Regions from separate parts of the Homo sapiens genome. Here region 1 is linked to region 2. The links are contacts of gene promoters, found by promoter capture Hi-C in blood cells and fetal thymus (Javierre and others, 2016). All regions are on one chromosome and are shown on one strand. Each heading gives the region's core, a stretch centred on a gene start or on the middle of the fragment in contact. The rest is flanking DNA. Distances are from core to core; before and after follow the strand shown. Region 1 overlaps FAP (fibroblast activation protein alpha). Region 2 holds the start of PSMD14-DT (PSMD14 divergent transcript).

Evidence for each region. The method cuts DNA at HindIII sites, captures the fragments that hold promoters and counts their contacts. A CHiCAGO score of 5 or more calls a contact.
Region 1: a fragment that was not itself captured here is called in contact with the fragment with the promoter of PSMD14-DT in region 2 in 8 of 17 cell types (fetal thymus, M1 macrophages, naive CD8 T cells and 5 more); the score reaches 11.3 in fetal thymus.

The regions. Positions count from the first base shown.
Region 1 is chr2:162,182,601-162,188,688 of GRCh38, reverse strand. FAP (fibroblast activation protein alpha) reads left to right here. Exons shown (of 26, transcript NM_004460.5): 20 at 326-520; 21 at 5,221-5,275. Among named protein-coding and RNA genes, the nearest start is that of GCG, 33 kb to the right of the region's middle. RefSeq lists an enhancer at 3,728-3,897. The HindIII fragment of the contact is 3,463 bases long and covers 1-2,981 here.
Region 2 is chr2:161,252,688-161,258,613 of GRCh38, reverse strand. PSMD14-DT (PSMD14 divergent transcript) reads left to right here and starts at 3,971. Exons shown (of 4, transcript NR_110593.1): 1 at 3,971-4,029. The HindIII fragment of the contact is 9,629 bases long and covers 1-5,926 here.

The DNA.
Region 1 (6,088 bases), core at 1-2,500, 930 kb before region 2:
CATGCATTTTTTTTAGTATATCTTATGTCTGCTTTTAGCAAGTGGCAGGTGGCAGAAATGACGAAAAACCCACACATATTCCTTGAAATGCCAACCCTAGATGTATCCGTTTTGGGGAATAGGAGAGGCTGTGTCCCAAAACAACTTCCTTGTAGCAAACCTCTGGGAAAAGCCTGGACTCCTCTTGATTTTGAGCCAGTTCTAACGCCATTGTTATTTTATCACATAATTGTACTGGAATTACTAGAAGCAATGCTTGGCCAGGATGGGAAATTGAGTTTTACAAAGCAATCAAAGATTCTTGTTTTTTTTGTTTTTCCTTTAGGTATGGTGGTCCCTGCAGTCAGAGTGTAAGGTCTGTATTTGCTGTTAATTGGATATCTTATCTTGCAAGTAAGGAAGGGATGGTCATTGCCTTGGTGGATGGTCGAGGAACAGCTTTCCAAGGTGACAAACTCCTCTATGCAGTGTATCGAAAGCTGGGTGTTTATGAAGTTGAAGACCAGATTACAGCTGTCAGGTGAGCACCTTCTCATTCAAGCAGATGTCAACATGCAACAAAAGTCATGCAATCACTATTGTGTTTCTCCATTCTTCATGACTTAATTCTTTTGTTTTTCTTTTTCTAACTTGGTCTAAAACTATCACTAATCTTAAAGAGGTATTTCTGCCAAATATGAAAAAAAAGTATTTATGGAAGAGAGCTAACGAATGTGTAGAAAAATGATTTCAAGTGCTAAATGACAAATACCCTCTTTTGATGTGTTGTCATTCATTCCAATATCTTTTAATTTAGTTCCATTTCTTACAATTGATAGAAAAACTTTGAACTCTAATGATGATCTTCAGGAAAACAAATATCTGAATTTGCTCAAGCATTGTGGATTCTGCCTCTTAAGTTTAGAAATGGCTCAAGATTTTATCAGCACTACATACTTTTAGATGTTAGGCCTTCATTTGTGGTTAAACTAGCTATCAGTCGGCCATGGTAGCATGAAAGTGTTTGCCTATTTTCGTTTGACAAAAACATAGTCATTTTACACAACAGAAATTATATTATGAAAACATTTAGGGAAAACACAGATTCATAATCTGATTTCTTCTTCTCAACTATATATATTTTCAACCATGATTTATGGTTCAATCATCTTTTCCTGAAACAGGACTATATAGGCACCAAAATTGTGGCTTTTTTAGAAACACTGTGCAAATAATTCTTGCCATGTCTCTATAGTTGTTGGGTTTCATTATTATGTTATGAATAGGTGAAGCTAAGAATAATAGTTCGTAAATTTAAAAGGTAGCAGGCTAATTGCACTCTCAGTCGTGAATATATGTGCATGTGAGGAGCTAAAGGTCAAACACTGTTTCACAGGCAAAGAGAAATTTAGAAATTTCTTTAGTACATTTTTTATCCCCTTAATGTTATTAATACTTAATGATTTCACTGCAACATGCAGAATAAAGATTGTATTTAACAGCCTGGAGCCAGGCCTAGACAACACTTTTCTATATTTTTGTCTCTAATCAAAGCAGAAGAGTTTAGACTCACAAGTAATTATTTTTAAAAATAGAAAGGTGTCCATAACCCATACATTTTCAAGTGCTTCTTTCATTCTGGGAACAAACAAAATGTTCAATTAAAAAAAAAGTCTATCTGAGTACAATACGACAAATTAGTAAGTAGGTTACTAACACTAAAATCTGTAGCTATCACTCAATTTCTGGAAGCTCCCTCTTTCTTATGGACTCAGACTTTTGGCCTTTCAACTATTCACTTGTTTGGAGGAGATAGTTCAAAGAAAAACCCCACTGAGACATCAGTTTCTCCTATAAAGACTGTAGTGTGCCTTAATGAGAATATTAACGCCATCCTCAGAATTATAGCTTAATTCCATGGGGGACTTTTTTTAGCACCATGGCTCACATCTATTTGCATTTAAACCATGCAATAAACATCAAGGACATGTAATCCTGGGACTACATGAAAACAGAGATGAAAATTATGCCTCATTTATAATTTATTTAGATCTTTTCCAAAGCTGAAAGAGCTAAAAAGTTGTTTATTTTGGCATTGGTTAAAAAATCATTGTCTTCATCATCGTCATCATCGCAACCCACCAGTAACAACAAAATATGTCATTATACTTTTATGGGTTTATTTACCACCACAGATGCACCATTTGAACCTAAGAAGAAATAGCTTCTTAATATTTTCCTTGGATGAAATGAAAATTTAAACCTGAGCCATGATATTCAACATACAGGACACAAAGCCATAAATTCTACCTTCTACTGATTTTCGCAGTAATACCAATTTGTCTTTGGCATTTAGAATTGAAGATGGACTAGAGGTGGTAATTGGATACCTCTACTTTCTCTGAGCCATTTTTAGGATGGAATCTGAAGAAAGTCTTCCTGCTATAGGGAAAACATATGTTCACCCATATACTCAGCCATTCAACAACATAGCAAATATTAATATTAATACATGCCATTGCAGTACACTCTGTATAAAATTGTGCAATTTGCAATTTCTGTTTTCAGTGTGCTTGCAATCTGGTAAAAGTAAATAAGCCACCTACACTCTGAAGGGACAAAATTGTTGTTAGATCAAACTTTTAGTAAACACCCCAGAGAATATGGGCAGCTGCGTGGCCCCATGCAAAGTCTATAAACAACAGTGGAGATGACAGCCAGAGCTGGCCTTGGTTTTTGCTTGAAATTGTTCTTATGCAACTGTGAAAAGGAAGCCTTATAATCCAATGCTTTGAGAAAACAAAAGCTAAATAGGATAGACTCAGAATAATAATCCTAGGGATGATTCAATATACCTCCTAAGGAAGTGTTTTAGGAATCAGACACTAAATGCCTGACCTGGGGAATTGAGATTATAATACTTCTACTGTAGCCCTTAAATTGCCTCTCAGAGAATAAAATTTCTCCCCTGAATCTTTTACAAAATGCAATCTGGCTAAGCTTTTGACATACCAAAAGAAAATCGTACGTACATATTTGGAAACAACAGTAAATACTACTCAAGGCCAACAAATAGATTTAAACAAAGCAAAGTAGGGGAAAAAAAGAAGTCATATCGTCTTATAACTTCTATCTATGTGAAAGAAAATGCGTCAGAAGAGATGTTTGTGAAGCTACAGACATAAGGGAGACTGGAACCCGCTTTCTTTAGGTGTCTCTTCAAATGGTACATATGTGAGACCCTTAAAACTTTGGTGGTTATAAGGGCAACTTTGCTCATTTGGAGTATATTTGGCACTTTTGATATTCCCACAACTTTAAAATTTGATATAACTTGAGGGTTAGTGGTGGGGAAGAATTACATGAGATGAAATTTTCTATCATGCTTTTATAGATGGCATGAATAAGAATATTTCTAAAATAGGATAATAATTGATCGCTATGATTCCAAGTTTACCTTGGCCTTGGGCCAACTTTATGAGAGAAAAGTTATAAAGTTCAATCCAGACTCCAAGATTAGAAAAACATCCTTTTCATTTGTTACTGACATTTTGTTGATATAACCACATTATCAACAGTATTTACAACCCTCTGGGAAACTCTTCAGAATTTGAAGGTGAATTTTATAGTGCCTCGTTGGTCTGGAAGTGCTAAGATTATCTAGCTAACCTTTAACCTAGTCCTGCAACATTCAGTGTTAATGTTTCATTTCCATGTTAACTATTGCACTATCATTTCCTGTAAATGTCATCCTTTCAGAATAAACCTAGGAAGAGAGCTGTTAAGAGTTTCCTGTTCCCATGTATCACCTGTTATTTGCTCTTTACCCCAGATGTAAGGTAGTATGATTGTTGGCTTCTGGGAGATCATAAAATCACAATTGATTTTATGGCTCAGAACTGTCTTCAAGCACCAGTAGCAAGGTTATTTTTTTTTTAACAAGAAAGTGAACCTTCTCTTCTTTCATTTGATTTTTGAAGTTTGTGCAAGAATTGCTCAAGTGTCACAATTTGCTGCACATTTTCTCCTCTATACCATGAGCAGCATCCACACAGGTAGCAACTTTCCATTTGCTACTGCATTTCTTCTCTGTAGACTCCTCAGTGTCCTTCAGAATCAGTGTCGGGTAAGCTGTGACTAACGGGGCCTCTTCCCATCTGTTTGTCCCGGGCATTTGCCCAACTTCTCTATGCATCGGAAACGTGCATGTTGAATCAATGCAAGAGCGAAATGGTTGCTGTGAAATCCCTTTAAGAAACTACATTATTCAAGTAATGAAAATCACTCAGTTCTACTTCCAGAGAAGAACTGATGAGAAAGGTCTTTAACAGTAATTGAATGGAACAAGAAGATAGTATTTTTCTGGGACTGTGTGTCTCCTTTGGTCTTCTCCCCTCCTTCCTGTCACTGTTGCATACGGTGGTTTCTGCAATGGCTGATCCAGTTTGCCACATTCCACTCCGGCTGCTGTTTCTCTGAGATTTTCTTGAGTTTTTATCAAACCAATCCCCAGATAAATCACAATTGCTCTAGAACACCAGCCCTCAGGGTAACATGTTAGAAATTAGCTTGAAACCCTCAATTTTGAGGGTTTCCCATGACTTTTTAAACGTTGTCCTTCAGTGTAGCCCCTTGCTCCTAAGGAAAGATTTATTTTCAAAATAGTTTTCAAATGGATGCTCTTCTGTGATGGAGCTAAAAAGGAATTATTTCCATATTAATTAATGATGAATTGAGGATGCCTAAGTATGAAATGGAAGACGGTTGTATATTTCTCTCAAATGTCTCTGAAAATGAAGTGATGATTATCATTAACAACAATGTGATAAGAAATTAATATAATTTAAAGCAGCAAGAACAAAATCCTTCTTTCCGATAGCTGGGGATTTGGAAACTTGGTCCTGCTCAATGCTGCTGCTACTTCTTGTGTCACTATGAACCCATCTTTTGGCCTCTCTGAGTCTCAGGTACACCCCCACGATTAGACTACAAGGCCTTATACCGCTCTGACATTACCAGTCAATAACTGTACAACAGAGTCTAAGGGAATCCTTTTATCTCTTTGCAGAAAACATGATAATATTATTTTAATTATTTGTAAATGCAGGCTTATTATGCATGTGTTTAAACAAAGAAAATGTAGCGTTTCTATTAAATCTTTGGATTAAATATGGTTGTGTAATGAAGTAAATGTCATGTGTATACACTTAACATTCTAAAAATTTGTTTCTTTTACTTTAGAAAATTCATAGAAATGGGTTTCATTGATGAAAAAAGAATAGCCATATGGGGCTGGGTGAGTTGTTTTATATTTTTTATGCCTGTTATTCAGTTCAGCAATCATCATTTTCTGAAGTGTTCGTTTAGAAGGTTTCTCATGAAATGTTAATGTTGCAACATAATTTAATCTGTCAATGGAAACAGTCAGTTTGGATAATCTGGGCTTCAAAATGGTGGTTTTAAGTGTTTGTTCCTTTTTTTCAATCTTTTCTTCCCTGTACAGTAAGTTAACTCATAATTGACATATTTTTACTTAAGTCTTTGTTACTAGATTATAGCATACTGAACTGAACCATATCCGTCAGAGGGTGAATTGCCTTTGTTATTTTAAAGTTAAATATATACCTTTTATTTTATATTTCTATTTTATAAAAATTGGAGCTACAATTTGAAATCACAGGGACTTTCAGAATATAAATTCCTTAGTACCTAGCCTAGCAGTCATATCTTAGCTGTTTAATTTTGTTTCTTTTTATTTGGCAATCAAATTATTTTAGTAGACCGAATGTTCGTTTGTGCTAACTGGAGAAAAGTACTATTTAGTTTCCTAATTATAGGTCATGGAGATAACTTCTCACACTTGAGGAGCTATTTTGAAAATACACATTTAAAGAAAGTGGCAAAACTTATCGTTTATGGGCAATGAAGTCACTGGAAAGTTTAGAGAAATATTGGAAAGAGTTGAGATTTGCCCATTATAAATTATGATAATTACCCTTCAAAGAAGATTTCCTGTTTCACTTTTTGGTCTGAATTTGTACATTTGCAAGTCAATTTGCAGCCATTTGTGCCTGGGTTGTTTTTCTTGGCTGTTTTCTCTGAGAGCGGC
Region 2 (5,926 bases), core at 2,722-5,221:
TCACGGCACTGCACTCCAGCCTGGGCAACAAAGCCAGACTCCATCTCAAAAAAATAAAAATAAAAAAATATATATATATATACTTTTATATATATATATAAAAGTATAATTTATACATGAAACAGAGGAAAAATGGTTTCCTGCCTGTTTGGGATATTTCATAAATCATGAAAACTCTTTTTCATCCGCATTGGGGACCGTTCGTGTACTCTAGATAGACCCTCAAGTCTTTTTTCTCTGTGCTTTTTGCCTAGACATTCCTGCACAATTCTATATGTTATTGTTTATGTGTACACCTCACATTTGCTTCTTTTGAGCCTCATTTTAAAAATATGATCATTATCCTAATTTAAATTTTAGTTTATTTTTCCAGGATACTAACCACCCCAATTTATTCAATATCATTTGCAAATTGGTGCAGCATAGTTTTGAATTTTTTGAATAAACAAAAAATATGTTGATTATTACAGGTTCCAAGTCATTCCTGAACCTCCTCTTGGTAAGGCTCTGGAACAACTTGCTCATCAGTCTAAAAGTAGTATGACTGAGAAGATATTTTCCTCACTTATTAAAAAGATGAACATATGTGATGGAATCTAAAATCCATTCATCTGGAGGAAAAAATGGTAGAGAATAGTCAGAAAATCCTTTAAAAGAAAGAATGATAGGGGTAGGAGCTAATCTGCCTTATCATCTATATAATTGAGTCTTCACAATTATTGTATTTGACACTGAGGAAACTGAGACTTAGAAAATATAACTAGCTCAGTGTGGTAGATATTATTATTTGCTTACAGTTCTTCATTTTCTCTAAGTCCCTGACATGCCTTCCCCGTGGAGACAATGCATTTTCCTTTCGCATTCACTTAGGGTTGATTGTGTGATCTTCAGACCAATGCAGTGTACGTGGAAAAAACAATGTGTTGGAGTTGAGGTTTAAGAGTGTGGCAAGTTTCAGCCAGCCTTCTTGTACTCTTACCATCCATTATAAGAAGAATTTATTCCAGGGAGCTGTTGTTATCACAGCCTGAAAAAACAGAAATGTGTAGCACTCAAATCTGACCTGTAGCTTGGAGCAAAGTCCATTTGTGTCCAGAAGAACACTGCAGTGTCACAGCTGACCCAGATACCCACGAAAGAGAAATAAATATTTTTTGTTGTACGCCACTGAGATTTGGGGAAGTGTTTGTCACACAGCATTATTGCAGAAAAACCTGAACAATACCTCGGAATCACACAGCTAAAAAATGTCAACGAAATAGAGGCAAAAATCCGGAACTAGATAACAGCATATCCAAGAATGTAGTGGAGAAAATAATGGATTGCTCAAAAGTGGTGTGGGGATAGTAACTAAGCCCTTGGAAGAAATATTAAATCTCTAATGTATACTTTAAAAAAAGAAACTCTAAGTTGGTAAGAGATATAAATGAAAAATATGAAAAGATAAAGATAATATAATTAGAATAAAATACTGAATTTTTTCTTACTAATCTTGTAAAGAATGTCTAAGAGTGATACCAAAGTCATTAATTGGAATACATAAAAACTTTGTATGACAAAAATGGCATAAACAAGGTAAAAAGACTAAAGACATACTAAAAAAATACACATCACAAACAAAAAATTAATATTTGTAATCCTAGAGAGGTGCTTACAAGTCAATAATAATAAGAGGTATACTCCAGAAGAACAGCAGGAATAAGATAATAGGCCATAGACGCATGGAAACAAGATAAACCTCATTACTTATCAAATTCTGGAAATTAAAAGAAACAATAAAATAAAATTTCCCATCTATTGGAATGTAAATGATTTTTAAGATTATATTAACACCTGATATATTCTGAGACTTTGCGGAGTTTGAAAATTAAAAAAAAGAGAGAGAGAAGAAAAACCAATGTAGAAATGTCTTGAGAGCAAAATGACTGTGACCTCTTTTGGAGGACAGTTCAGCAATAACACATATTTTAATTTTAAGAAAAAATATTTAATTTTAACACGAAAGTCTTAAAATTATGCAGACTCATTGAGCATTTACATTTCTTAAGGAATAATCTTGTCAAATGTGAAAAGATGTATTACAATATTCAAAGTAAAAAAAGTTGAAACTACCTAAATGTTAATCAACAGGGGATTGATCAAATAAATTATGGAACATCCATAAAATAAAATGTACGTTTCAACAATAGCCATTAAGAATTATGAAGATCTGTATGGACATTAAAAGACAGCAGTGATTATATATTAAGAGAAAAAAAGGAGGCTATAAAACTGTATGTACAGTGTGATCACTTTTATAAATATGTGAAATATATGTTAATGTAATTAATTCTTGATGAATAGGCAAAATACTATTTATGGTAGTTTTATCTGGATGATAGGTTTATGGTTGATCTTCATATAAGAAAATACTTTTTGTCTATAGTATTGAATGCTTTCTACAATGATAATATATAGTCAGAAATAAAAGCAAAACACTTTCCTTTTAGAAATGAAAAAAATACAAGCAATATCTTCTGCAAATATGGAAAAAGTCTATAGGACTCAAAATGGGTGATATCTATTGTTTACTCCTTGTCTAGGTTCTCATAAATTATTCATGGAAATCCTATCGTACTAATAATTATTTTTCCTTCATTACTCCTTTGCATTCCTTTTCAGAGAGTGACAGGTATTATACTCTGCAGGCATTTATATTATAGAGTATTCTTTATAATAGATATTTTCTTAAGCCATGTTTACATGATTCAAAAAAAATCACATAAATAAAAAACAGTTACATTGGCTAAATTAGAGTATTTCTACACAAACCAATAATTTTAGCTTGAACTTGAACTGACCAACTTGAATGGACCAATTACTTTAGGATTATTTTTAAGATTAAAGTAAAGAAAATTATGAAAATCAACAGTTTCCTTCAGTTATTTAGAGGAAAAAATAATTACAAAAAAGTCTTCAATGAGACAAATTAATTTTACAAAAAATAGCAATTAGGCAATTGATATAATATTATATATATCTATCAATCTGTAGATAGAGATACAGATATAAAAAACCCAGGGATACACTAATAAACTACAGAACTTGTGTAGGACCCATATGAAGAAATTACAAAATTTTCAAAGGATCATTAAAATTTTTGAAAACTTTCTATGTGAGTAAATATTTTAAAGCTGTCCCATCATTTATAAATTTAATGTAATTCAGCGTAGGATTTCCAATAAATTTTTAAAATTAGCTATGACATTAAATTTCTTTTAATTGGGCAGCCTCTGAATCAGAATAGGTCTAGAGAGAGTCCTAAAATTTTTTTATTATGAAAATAATATGGGCTTCTCCTGAAAAATTCAGGCCATGCAGAAGGTGTTAAATGAAAAATATTGTCCTTGGCCTACATCCTAACTCCTCAATCCAACTCCCCAGGGGTAAATCATTGTAAATAGCTTTAAAAAAATTGTGGTAGGGCCAGGCAAGGTGGCTCACGCTTGTAATCCCAGCACTTTGGGAGGTCGAGGCGGGCAGATCACGAGGTCAGGAGTTAGAGACGAGCCTGACCAACATGGTGAAACCCCGTCTCTACTAAAAATAAAAAAATCAGCCGGGCATGGTGGCGTGTGCATGTAATCCCAGCTACTCAGGAGGCTGAGGCAGGAGAATCGCTTGAACCCAGGAGGCAGAGGTTGCAGTGAGCCGAGATTGCGCCACTGCACTCCAGCCTGGGTGACAGAGCGAGACTCTGCGTCAAAAAAAACAATTGTGGTAAATAAAACATATTGTTTTAAACATTTTTAAGTGTACAGTTCAGTAGCATTAGGTACATTCACATTGTTGTGCAACTATCACCACCATCCATCTCCAGACTGTTTGCATCTTGCAAAACTGAGACTCCCCTGTACACCTTTAACAACAACCCCCATTGTCCCCTTCCCTCAGCTCCTGGCAACCACCATTCTACTTGATGCCTCTATGAATCTGACTACTCTAGGTACCTCAGATGAGTGGAATTATGCAGTATTTGTCCTTTTGTGTGTAAGTAGCTTTTTAATAATCTTTTTCAAATATTTTTTTCAAAGACATTTACCAAAATTTTATGACTAATGCTTGTTCATAGTAGAAAATCCAAACTACCTAAGAAGTTTCTTTATAGTAAAGAGCAAAATTTCCTCTTCTCCACAATGTCCATTCCCATTAACCAAAGCTAACCATTGTTAATACTTTTTTTGGCCAATCTTCCAGAATGTTTATATGTATCAATAAGGAACAGCCTCACATACACATGGGCCTGCACACACACTTCTATGCTTTTTCTGACTTTTTTAATTTTAAGAAGGCTAATATATATATTGTTGTACAATTTGCTTTCTTCACTTAATATATCTTGAGTATTTTTTCACAGCAAAACATATGTTCTTAAGTGAATCTTTTTTTAACTTAATAATGTAATTCAGAATAATATGAACGAATAGTCAAGAATGACAAAGAAAATTTTGGAAAGGAAAACTACTGAAGGACTTGCAATACTAGATATAAGACTGTATTATTTAAATATTGTGATAAAGGTAGAAAAATAGAGAAATCAGTGGAGTGGAAATTAATCTCAAGAGAGGTCTCTAGAAGATAAAACCTTTCAGCTAAATTCAAAAATCTTAAAATCAGTAGGAAAAAACTATATTATTCAATAAACTTGCAGGGACAAGCTGAAAAACAAGAATCCAATCCTCTCCTCACATGATAAACCAAAATAAATTGCAGACATATTAAAGCACTAAATGCATAAAATGAAAACAAAAAAAAATCATCAAATATGTAGGAGAAAACAAAAGTGAATATTTTAGCAGGTGGTCATGCGTGCCTGTAGTCCCAGCTCCTCTGAAGGCTGAGGCTGGAGGATCACTTGAGCCCAAGAGGTTGAGGCTCCAGTGAGCCATGATCGTCCCACTGCACTGCAGCCTGGGCGATAGAGCAAGATCCTGTCTGAATAAAAAAATAAAGAAGTCAATAAAAAATAATAAAAGTGAATATTTATCTAACCTTTTGTGAGGAAGATTTTCCTTTTTTTCTTCAGAGATGGAGTCTCACTCTGTCGCCCAGGCCTCCGCCTCCTGGGTTCAAGTGATTCTCCTGCCTCAGCCTCCTAAGTAGCTGAGACTATAGGCATGTGCCACCATGCCTGGCTAATTTTTGTATTTTTTATTAGAGACGGGGTTTCACCATGCTGGCCAGGCTGGTCTCGAACTCCTGACCTCGTGATCCACCCACCCCAGCTTCCCAAAGTGCTGGGATCACAGGCATGAGCCACCGCGCCCGGCCATGAGGAAGATTTTCTACAAGTAAAGGTAGAAATGTTAATGAAAACACTTGAGAAATTGACAATTTAAAAGTGAAAAAGTCAATAACAAAATATGATAAAGTTTAGCTTAGAAAGATCCTTGTAAAATGTATGGCATAGTGTTACTATGGCAATTTTACATAAACACCTTTCTTTATAAAAAATAAAAAAAATACAAACACCCCAACAGAAAAAATGGGTGTTGTATAGGAATAAGTACACTATAAAGCAATATTATAAATGGCAAACAATATATGAAATTTAAAATTTTTCAAGTAAGCAAAATAACTAAAAGTAAAAACAATTATTTTTTCAAACATCAAATTCGAGACCATTAAAAACCTGTTAACATTTAGTGTTGGTGAAGATTAGGATAAACAGACATTCTCATGTACTTCCATTTTGGAAGGCACTTTAGTCTACGTATCAAAACTCATAAAAAAATCCTTTTTGACCCTAAAATTCCCCTTTTAGAAATTTATCTGGAGGAAGTAATTATAAATGTATGCAAATATTTGTCCACAGAGATGTTCACATAACATTGTTTATGATATAGAAAAATTAGCAATTATTGGCCGGGCATGGTGGCTCACGCCT